3 separate regions of the Homo sapiens genome follow, and regions 1 and 2 are each linked to region 3. Evidence: promoter capture Hi-C in 16 types of primary human blood cells and fetal thymus (Javierre and others, 2016). All regions are on one chromosome and are shown on one strand. Each heading gives the region's core, a stretch centred on a gene start or on the middle of the fragment in contact. The rest is flanking DNA. Distances are from core to core; before and after follow the strand shown.

Region 1 (3,549 bases), core at 105-2,604, 290 kb after region 3:
GTCTTCTCCATGATCACCCCCACAAGTTGTGTGGGAGTGAGTTGGGTCCCGTGGCTGCCACTGATTGGTTGCGATAAGTTACGCGGCCCAATAAGAAAAAGAATGTACCTTTGCTGGCCTATAGAAAGGGGAAAGCAGGTGAGTGGTTGTTAGGGGCGGACAGCTGCGTTGCCTAGGCCCTGGTCCCGCTCCAGTTGGCTGAGAGTAGGGAAAGCTCAGTCCTTGGGCGAGTGATCCCTGGCTGGCCTCCGGGAACGTTTGCCGCGCCAGGACAGGGAGGGACAACCAGGTGTACCCGAGACTGGGAGATTAATTCCTGCTAATCTTGGGACGGAAGTGTTCTGTTTGTTCAAAGGAATTGACTTCAGCGTCGCAGGCCTGCCCGCATCTCAGTGTCTGATTTTGCTGCCCATGTGTTGTTCAGCTCTGAGCCATAAGCAAGACCCCCACTGGTCCTGGGCTGCACTGTATTTTAGTTCGTGTCTGGGTCGCAGCCAACTAAGCCTGCTGATTAACAAAATGGAGCTAATGCATCCACTTTGTGCCTTGCGTTTTCCTCCGTCATCTCATTTAATCATCAATCACTAAGGTTTATGAGCTAGGGGGTGCTACCCCCTCCCCCGAAACGTGGGGCAATTGAAATTCAAAGGCTTACCAAAACCTGTCCTAGGATTGGCGCCAGGTCTGTCTGCCTCTAAATCTCTGTGCTGTTGGTCTCAGCCATCTTCCCTGCCACCTGTTGACTTGACAGTTTCAGCTTATAACCAGTCAGAGTTGGCTTCCCCGTAAGGCCACGTATAACTTTTTTTCCCCCTTTTCTTTTTATTTATTTATTTATTAATTTTTGCGACAGGGTCTTGCTCTGTCGCCCAGGCTGGAGTGCATTGGCGCCATCAGGGCTCATTGCAGCCTCGACCTCCCGGGCTCAAGCGATCCTCCCACCTCAGCCCCACAAGGTGTTGGGATTACAGGCGTGAGCCACAACACCTTGCCTATCTGTAACTTTCTAGTGACTGCATCCAATGGTTGGCTTTCAGCCCTTGCTTGACTCAACCTCTCTCCCCTTCTTGAAAGTCTCCTCCCTAAGCTTCTGTGATCCACATGCCTCTGCTCCTCTTTTCTCTCTGGCTATGCATGTGTCCTCTTCTCTTTACCTGATGTCCTTCTCTTTACTTTTCCTGCATGATTTCCTCTGCTCCAGTCCAGCCCCTGACCCAGGTGCTGATGATTTCCTTGTGTGGTCTCCAGCCGGGATCTATCCTGCTTTTAAAACAGTTCAGTGTCCCTAGACACTGTCTGCACCCCAGCTCCGGAAACGGGCATCATGCTCACTATCTGCCCCCACATCCAAACTGGTAATTAAGTCATTTATTCAGTTAGTCTACAAATATGGATCAAGTGTCTCCTGTTCTAGGGACTTAGGATGTCAGTGAACAAAATAAAGATCTCTACCTTTGTGGAGCTTATCCTAGTAGATGTGACAGCAAACCACAGACATAAGTGAAAAATCTAATACGCTGGAAGATGATCAGTGCTATAGGAAAAAAGTAGAACAGAATAAAGGGGATCAGGATGTGGTGGGGTACTTGAAGCTGGTTGCAGTATCAGCGAGGATAATCGGGTAAGCTTCCTTGAGAAGGTGACATTTGAGCAAAGACTTAAAGGAAGTGAGGTTATGAGCCAAGTGGATGTCTGGGTAAAGAGTTACAGCTCAATAAAGGTGGAGCAGTGCTGCTTTGTTGAAGGAGATGAGTGTGGCTATAGTGGAACTAGTGAAGGGTGCGTAGGAAAGAGGCCAGGGCAAGATCGCATTGGCCATCACAGGGACCTTGGCTTTTCCTCTGAGTGACGTGAGAAGTCATTGGAGGGTGCTGAGCAGAGGTGTGACATGCTCTGACTTAGGTGTAATAAAGTCACTCCAGGCTGGGTGTGGTGGCTGACCCTGTAATCCCAGCACTTTGGGATGCCAAGGCGGTTGGATCACGAGGTGAGGAGATCGAGACCATCGTGGCTAACACGGTGAAACCCCGTCTCTGATAAAAAAACACAAAAATTGGCCGAGCTTGGTGGCGGGCGTCTGTAGTCCCAGCTACTCCGGAGGCTGATGCAGGAGAATGGCGTGAACCTGGGAGGCGGAGCTTGCAGTGAGCTGAGATCGTGCCACTGCACTCCAGCCTGGGCAACAGAGCGAGACTCAGTCTCAAAAAAAACTAAAAAAAAAAAAAAAAAAGTCACTCCAGCTCCTGTGTTGGAATAATCTGTAGTGGGGAGGAAGGCAAGTGTGGGAGCAGGGAAACCAGTTAGGAGGCTCTTGCGGTGCAATAGGCAAGAGAGGACATCCTGTGGGTTCTACCTCCTGAGTGTCTCTAGAATTCATTCTTTCCTTGCCATTTTCACTGCCAGTGTCCTAGTCCAGACCATCATCATCTCATGCCTGGGAAAATGCAACAGTCCCCTTTCCTGTGCTTTCCTCCTCATCCGTTTTCCATAGAACGGCCAGAGAGATCTCCTGACACCTGAGCTCACGTCTTGCCTTCCCTCCCACACTCTGCCCTTCAGGCATAATGCCCAGTTGTGGGGTCTCAGGTGTACCATCCCTACCATGCCCCAGGCAGGCCCATCACCTTTTGCATATGTCTTTCCTTCTCCCAGGAACGTCTTTCTCCTCAAATATCACAAAAAGCATTGCCTACTTCCTCAGGCTGGGGTGGAGTGCATGCCATCATGGCAGGCTAATTAAAAAGAATTTTTTTTGTAGCTACAAGGTCTTGCTATCAGGCCCAGGCTGCTTTTGAACTCCTGGGCTCAAGCGATCCTCCTGACTTGGCCTCCCAAAGTATTGGGATTACAGGCATGAGCCACCATGCCTCGACAAAAAGCAGTTGTACTTCTAAGTACTAACAATAAGCAATCAGAAATTGAAAATTTCAAAATACTATTTACATAGCTTCAAAAAATCAAATGTTTGGCCAGTCACGGTGGCTCACGCCTGTAATCCCAGCACTTTGGGAGGCTGAGGCGGGCAGATCACTTGAGGTCAGGAGTTTGAGACCAGCCTGGCCAACACGGTGAAACCCCTTCTCTACTAAAAATACAAAACTAGCCAGGCGTGGCCGGGCGTGGTGGCTCATGCCTATAATCCCAGCACTTTGGGAGGCTGAGGCGGGCGGATCATGAGGTCAAGAGATCGAGACCATCCTTGCTAACACGGTGAAACCCCGTCTCTACTAAAAATACCAAAAAAATTAGCCGGGCATGGTGGCAGGCGCCTGTAGTCCCAGCTACTTGGGAGGCTGAGGCAGGAGAATGGCGTGAATCCAGGAGGCAGAGCTGGCAGTGAGCCGAGACCGCACCACTATACTCCAGCCTCAGTGACAGAGCAAGACTCCATCTCAAAAAACAAAACAAAACAAAACAAAACAAAACAAAACACAAAACTAGCCGGGCGTGGTGGCATGCGCCTGTAATCCCAGCTACTCAGGAGGCTGAGGCAGGAGAATCACTTGAAACCAGAAGACAGAGGTTGCAGCGAGCTGAGATTGCGCCACT
Region 2 (3,624 bases), core at 384-2,883, 340 kb after region 3:
CCCCAGTCCTCAACGCCAGACTTGACCCCAGTATCACTGCCATCCGCAGCTCTAACCCCAGCTCCCATTCCCATTTCTAACTGACTCTTCTGTCCTCACGTCCTTCTCCGTGAGGCCCACTGAGGGCTGTGTGGCTCTGGTGGGCTGTGCACGGCTGTGTGTGTGCACATGCATGTTCGCACAGGTTCTGGTCAGCCCTGGCCAGTAGCAGTGTCAGCGGAGTGCCTGGGCTCCCCTGTCCCAGTGGCAGCATTGGTGGGGTACCCAGGCTACCCCTCTCCAAAAGAGCAGCATCTATATGTGGGGGTGTCTATAGGTGGGATCGGGGTCCCTGCTTGCTTCTCCTAGCAACTGTTGTATGTGCAAGTGGGAACGTCCAAGACCCTGAGTGCTGGGGGCTCATCTGATAGGGCGGGGGGACCTAGCCACTGACCACAGTGTGTGCCTCTTTCTGCAGATCTCCAGCGTTCTAGACATGGAGGCCATCACTTTCAAGAAGTTGGTGAAGGGCCATGCCTACTCTGTGACCGGGGCCAAGCAGGTACTGCCCTGGGTGGGGCCTTCCCTGAAGGGCGGTTCCTGCCCCCTGGCCTGTCCTTGCCTCTCTGGCACCTGACCAGGGCTGTGGAAGGTGCTGGCTCCTCCTTTCCCCTCCTGCAGCACCTTATCTCTCTTCTGGGGACACCCATCTGAGATGCCTATCATGTCCTGCCCTGACTGACTGTAGTTCATGTGTGCAGCTGCCTGCCTGGGCTGTGAATTCCAAGAGGACAGGCTTCATCTGGGTGCTGAGCAGGGCTTGGAGAGGATGAGGGTATGGGAGGCGGAGTGTTAAAGTGCGTGCATGGGCCAGGTGCACTGGCTCACACCTGTAATCCCAACACTTTGGGAGGCTGAGGTGGGCAGATCACCTGAGGTCAGGAGTTCGAGACCAGCCTGGCCAACATGGTGAAACTCTGTCTCTACTAAAAATACAAAAACTACCTGGGTGTGGTGGCAGGTGCCTGTAATTCCAGCTATTTGGGAGGCTGAGGCAAGAGAATTGAATTGCTTGAACCCAGGAGGCGGAGGTTGCAGTGAGCTGAGATCGCACCACTGCACTCCAGCCTGGGTGACAGAGCAAGACTCTGTCTCAAAAAAGAAAAAAAAAAAAAGTGCCTGCTGGAAGCTAGCACTGACAGGAGCTCTGGCAAATAGGTGAACTACCGAGGCCAGGTGGTGAGCCTGATCCGGATGCGGAACCCCTGGGGCGAGGTGGAGTGGACGGGAGCCTGGAGCGACAGGTGAGGGGCAGTGGGCACTGTCTGGAGTGCCTTGGGGAAACTGTTAGGTGCCCCGACATTTCTGCTCGGGACTCTACCAGGCCAGGCTGGACTCAGGATTGAGCAGAGGGGCCCATCTTCGCGCGACTGGGTCTGGGGGACTGCTCTGACAAAGCTCAGGCCGTGCGGGCCCCTGTGCCCAGCCGTCGGGTGTGTGCAGGGCATCAGACTGGCCCTGATGAGACCACCCCCTAGAAGCGGAACCTTGGCGCTTGACCTTGAGGAGGCCACCTGGGCTGGGCCGGGGGAAGACAGGCCAGGGTAGACAGGCCCCAGGGACAGAGGCCAGGCAGGTCAGTGCCCACCAGCCCTGGCAGAGCCCTGCTCCTCACAGCTCCTCAGAGTGGAACAACGTGGACCCATATGAACGGGACCAGCTCCGGGTCAAGATGGAGGACGGGGAGTTCTGGTGAGCGCCCCCTCCCCTTCTACCCCACCTCTCCACCCCTACACATCAGCTCTGTGCCCTGACGGGCTGTGCCTCACCTGTGTACCTCCCACCTCAGGATGTCATTCCGAGACTTCATGCGGGAGTTCACCCGCCTGGAGATCTGCAACCTCACACCCGACGCCCTCAAGAGCCGGACCATCCGCAAATGGAACACCACACTCTACGAAGGCACCTGGCGGCGGGGGAGCACCGCGGGGGGCTGCCGAAACTACCCAGGTGCACAGGGGCGGGCTCTGGGTCTTGCTGCTTCCTGGCTTAGGGGCTCCAGAAGGCACGTCATCTTACTGAGCCTCCGTTTCCTCACTTGCAAGATATAGGCTGATCTCTTGAATTTGCTTTGAGGAGTAAAATATTAAATGTCCTAGTAAATTTTAAAGAGGCATGCTTGACTCACCGTCTTGGGGCCTGAGCCCAGGGTGCTCATGAGGGGCAAAGATCTTGTGGCCATCCAGCCACCTGCCTGTCACTCCTTTCCTGGGCCCTTCCCTCCTGCCTTCGCTTTTTTTTTTCTGAGACAGAGTCTCACTCTGTTGCCCAGGCTGGAGTGCAGTAGCGTGGCCTTGGCTGACTACAACCTCCATCTCCCGGATTCAAGCAATTCTCCTGCCTTAGCCTCCCGAGTAGCTGGGATTACAGGCACCTACCATACCCAGCTAATTTTTGTATTTTTAGTAGAGGCAGGGTTTCTCCATGTTGGCCAGGCTGGTCTCGATCTCCTGACCTCAGGTGATCCGACCACCTTGGCCTCCCAAAGTGCTGGGATTACAGGCGTGCGCCACTGTGCCAGGTCCCTTCTTGCCTTCTCTTGCCACCTTTCCCTGGGCTTCTAGATCCATGTGGCTGATGTGGGCCACAGCCTGGCCTCTCAGTTCCTTGTCACTCTCACTGCAGCACGCTTTTTCTCTACCTTAGCTCAGCCCCCACCATGAGGGCACCAGAGCTGCCTTGTCTTGCAAACACCCGCTCTCTGACCTCCACCTTCGACTCTTTCCACTCCCTTAGTCTTCAACCCTTCGACCAAGCCAGTCCGTTGAACCCATCACTTGCGTACCATCCTGCCTCTCCCATCTTGCCTTCTCTCCTTACCTAGGTTAGAGCTATCATTTTAATCTTGTTCCTACAAACACTTTCAGTTCCCTGGCCCCTGTCTCCCATCATCTGGCACAAAACCCATCTCCACTGGCTTGGGAACCATTGAGTGTGGCAGGAGAGAAATCACATAACCGATGCCATATTTTCCCTGTAAATTCTTAGCCACAAATCTCAAATGAGCATTTTCCATAATCCCCAGCAATTCCACTACTGGTTAGTAACATTTCCACTCTCACCTCGATATCTCCCCACTGTTACTCTCACCTTCGGGCCTGGCCTTGCACTTCACTGAAAAGATAGACTTCATCCTGCAGGACACCTTGTGTTCCCACCTCCAAATCCCCCAGCCTTCTGCACCTGTGCCTGTGTCCTCATCGCCTCCCCACCTGCGACAGTGGCAGAACAGTCCCTGTTCATGGGGACCCCCACGTCTGCTCCAGATCCCATTCTCCCTCACCTCTGAAAGCATTTGCTCCTTCATCTGTCACCTCTCTCTCCAGTGTCATTACGGAGAGTCCTCTGTCTTAACACAAAGCAACCCTCTCGACCCCACTTCCCTGTTCATTTCTCCGCCCTCCTTCAAAGCACAATTTATCAGGAATTACCATACTCCCTATTTCCTTTCTCACTTCTGCTTCATTGCTTAACCCTTCCCAGTCCAGCTTCATCCCTACCATGCTGCTAAAACCACCCTCTCAAAGGTCACTTAAGCTTTGGCCTTGCCAGATCCGCCGCTGCTCTGTCCTCCTGTGCTGCATC
Region 3 (3,518 bases), core at 228-2,727:
GGACAAGTAGAGACAAGCAGGAGAGGAATGAGTCACAGCCCTTTGAGTTACCTTGGGAGATTGTCAACAGAGGGCCCCCATGCCGGGGTCCCAGGCAGAGGTGCTGGAGGCAGTCAGGGAGGAGCACACATGTGTGTGCAAACACACACACGTGTGTGGGTGTCATGGGGGGGGTGACAACAACACAGGCAGACAGGCATAGCACGGAGGCATACCAGGGAGACAGGCACAGAGGCAGGGGCCTCTGACTGCCTCGCCCTGGATGGAAGGGTTGGGGCTAGGGGACAACTCCCTGGCACATCTAGGTGGCAGCCTCCCCCTCTACCCCAGGCCTTGTGCCTTCCCAGAGCTCAGGAGTGCCAGGAACGCTAGTTGCCCACTGGGCAAACACCTGCCTCACCCCGCCCTGGCCAGGCCCCCGTGCCTTTTCCCCATGGCCCGGCAGGGTGTGACCAGGGAACCCTCCAGCTGGCGCCAGTGCCCACAGTGGGTTCAGGGTCACCCCGGGCCAGCCACTCCCAATGACTCAGATGAGTCTACCAGGAAAGGTACAGACCCATCTCCAGCTAGGCCCCCCTCCCCGGCCCCGGCGCCACAGCCCCCAAGGAGCTTGGCCAGCAGCCTGCACAGGCCAAGGGTTGGAGATCGGTTCCTGAGTCCAGGCTGCAGTGGTCTTGTACCCAGGGAGCTGGGGGTGTGTGTGTTGGTGGGGGGAAGGTCTGCAAGTGTGCGATACCTACAGATCTGTGTGTTTTGCAGTGCCAATGCGGTCGGGGTGGTCTGCAGCGCTCCCTGGGTCTCTCCATGAGTTGTGTGTCTCAATGCATCCGAGAGGAAGGAGAAACAGAGCCCGTGTATCAGTGGGTGACATGCATGAGGGTCTGTGTGTGTCCTGCGTCAGGTGTGGCCTGTAAGCAAGGAAATCTGTAAGGGACTCTAGGCGGTGCACTGGGTACATGCGTCTGCGGTCGATACCTGAGCACAAGTTGGTATGTGTGTGCATGTGTCGGGGTCTGTGAGAGGGAGAGAGCGTGTGTGAGAATTGGAGTGAGGGTGAGGTGTGCAGGCGAGTGTGCGGGCCGCGGGGGTCCGGTGGTACGCGTCAGGGCCACTGCAGGGAGTCTGCGAGGGAAGCCCGTGGGGGTGCGGGTCCCTGCGGGAAAGTCTGCGGGTGCGGGGGTCTCGGCGCGATATCCCTAGGCCCGCCCCCGCTCCGTGCCGCCCCGCCACTCACCCCAGCTCAGGAACTGCGCCACGCTGCGCTCCCGCCGTAGGGGGCCGCTGCTGAGCTCGTGGTGCAGCGCCAGCAGCAGATCTAGGAGGCCGTCGAGCCCCGGGCAGCCGCCGGCCTCGCCCCGCGCCAGCTGCTCCAGCGCGCGCAGCCGCCGCTCCATGGCTGCGGCCGGAGCCTCGCTGCTCGGCTACAGTCTGGCCGCCCGCATGCCCGCCTGTCGGGCCGTCCGTCCGCCCAACCGTCTGAGGCTCTGTCCGCGCGTCCTCCCCCGCCCCTCTCCCGCCCTCCCCGCTGTCACCTTCCTCCGCCGCCGCCAGCGCGCCCTCACCTGGGCGCCGCGCCCCGCCCCCCGACGGACGGGCAGGTGCGCGCCGGCCAATGGGAGCCGCGGCTAGAGGTGAAGGTGGGGGCGGAGGCGCGCGGGGGCGGGCCCAACTCCCGGCCAGGAAGTGCGGGGGCGGGCCGGGGAGAACAACTGACTTCTGCGCGGGGCGCGGTGGGGTTCTGCGGGGTCGGAAAGACTCCCCAGATCCCCGCGCGGCCCCAGACCCAGACTTACCTGGGCCCTCCCTGGGCCCTGACCCAGGAGGCGCGGAGCACTGCAACTTCTCTCGCCCCCTGGGTCGCAGCCGCCTTGCCCTTGGCTAAGAGAGAGGGGCTAGGGACGCCCGCGGCCCCGGAGCCGGATGGGAATTGTAGTTCGCTCTCTCCATGGTTTGCCCGCGCTTGGCACCCATCGCCCCCCCGCCCCCGCCCAAAAAAAAGTTTCTGAATCTTACTTTGATTGTATCATTAGAGTTGATGTGGGAGACAGGAAGTTGGGGTAGGGATGGTCACGCCCATTTGGCAGATGGACACACTGAGGCTTGGGAAGGAGGAAGGCGAATTGAGGGGCTGAGGACAAGGTGGCTCTTAAGTTAGACCCTGGGGTGGAGGTGGAGCTGGGCTGGTACCAACACCACAGGCGTTTTAAGCTTCAGTAGGAGCAGGGCCTGAGGTCTGACCTGGAACGTGAAGGGCAAGGAGAGGTCTGAGATAGGCTGGAGGAGGTTGGGGAGGGGAGGGGCTGGCTCTGTCCAGTGGTATTTCTGATTTCTGTCCAGCTGGGATGGACCAGGCACCATGAGGAGAGATCAAAGGGTGGGACATATTGGTGGCTTCAGACAACACTTTTTTTTTTTTTTTTTTGAGACAGGGTCTCTCTGTCACCCATGCTGGAGTGCAGTGATGCAATCATAACTCACTGCAGCCTTGACCTCTTAGGCTCCTGCCTCAGCCTCTTGAGTAGCTGGGATTACAGGCAGATGCCACCACACCCAGCTGATTTTTTATTTTACTTTTTGGAGTCAAGGGTTATTGTTATGTTGACCAGGCTGGTCTCGAACTCCTGGGCTCAGGTAATCCTCCCACCTTGGCCTCCCGGAGTTCTGGGATTACAGACATGGGCAACTACACCCGGCCTAGACAACACTTCTTTCTCTTTTTTGAGACAGGGTCTCACTCTGTCCCCTAGGCTGGAGTGCAGTGGTGCAATCGTAGCTCACCACAGCCTCAACCTCCTGGGTTCAAGTGATCCTCCCACCTCAGCCTCCCGAATAGCTGAGACTACAGGCTCACACCACTAGGCCAGGCTGATGTTTTGTTTTTTGAGATGGTGTCTCACGCTGTCACCCAGGCCAGAGTGCAGTGGCACGATCTCGGCTCACTGCAACCTCTGCCTCCCAGGTTCAAGAGAGTCTCCTGCCTCAGCCTCCCAAGTAGCTGGGATTATAGGCATGTGCCACCACACCCAGCTAATTTTTGTATTTTTAGTAGAGATAGGGTTTTGCCATGTTGGCCAGGCTGATCTCAAACTCCTGACTTCAGGTGATCCTTCTGCCTCGGCCTCCCAAAGTGCTGGGATTACATGCGTGAGTCACTGGGCCCAGCCATGTTTGTATTTTTTATAGAGATGGGGTTTCGCCATGTTGCCTAGGCTGATCTCAAACTCCTGGACTCAAGTGATCTGCCTGCCTCAGCCTCCCAAAGCGCTGGGATTACAGGCTGTAGCCACTGGCCAACACATTATTTCATTAAAAGACCTGTTTAGGGGTTTGCCTCTCCTCTCGTACTGGGACCTCGCTGAGATGGGGGCAGGATCAGGTTGAGGGAGGAGGTGTTCCATGAATGTTTGAAGCAAACAGGGTGTTTCTCCCCACGAAGGGTTTTTCATGTGATTATTTGTTTATTTATTTATTTATTTTAAAGAGACAGGGTTGCACTATATTGCCACGTTGGCCAAGCT

What was found. Contacts are between HindIII fragments. The CHiCAGO score rates a contact against its expected background, and 5 or more counts as called.
Region 1: a contact is called between a fragment that was not itself captured here and the fragment with the promoter of CDC42BPG in region 3, in 2 of 17 cell types (M2 macrophages and M0 macrophages). The highest score is 6.8, in M2 macrophages.
Region 2: a contact is called between a fragment that was not itself captured here and the fragment with the promoter of CDC42BPG in region 3, in 2 of 17 cell types (M1 macrophages and M0 macrophages). The highest score is 5.6, in M1 macrophages.

Annotation. Positions count from the first base shown.
Region 1 is chr11:65,135,010-65,138,558 of GRCh38, forward strand. No RefSeq gene overlaps it. Among named protein-coding and RNA genes, the nearest start is that of SYVN1, 2.3 kb to the left of the region's middle. RefSeq lists enhancers at 1-152, 1-20 and a silencer at 6-189. The HindIII fragment of the contact is 539 bases long and covers 1,086-1,624 here.
Region 2 is chr11:65,186,758-65,190,381 of GRCh38, forward strand. It overlaps CAPN1 (calpain 1), which reads left to right. Exons shown (of 22, transcript NM_005186.4): 7 at 458-541; 8 at 1,198-1,283; 9 at 1,657-1,731; 10 at 1,829-1,989. Among named protein-coding and RNA genes, the nearest start is that of CAPN1, 6.6 kb to the left of the region's middle. RefSeq lists enhancers at 1-109, 1,481-2,027. The HindIII fragment of the contact is 3,882 bases long and covers 1-3,574 here.
Region 3 is chr11:64,843,176-64,846,693 of GRCh38, forward strand. CDC42BPG (CDC42 binding protein kinase gamma) reads right to left here and starts at 1,478. Exons shown (of 37, transcript NM_017525.3): 1 at 1,235-1,478. The coding sequence starts at 1,394. RefSeq lists enhancers at 1-116, 141-953 and silencers at 1,168-1,217, 1,248-1,297, 1,308-1,657. The HindIII fragment of the contact is 2,728 bases long and covers 1-2,206 here.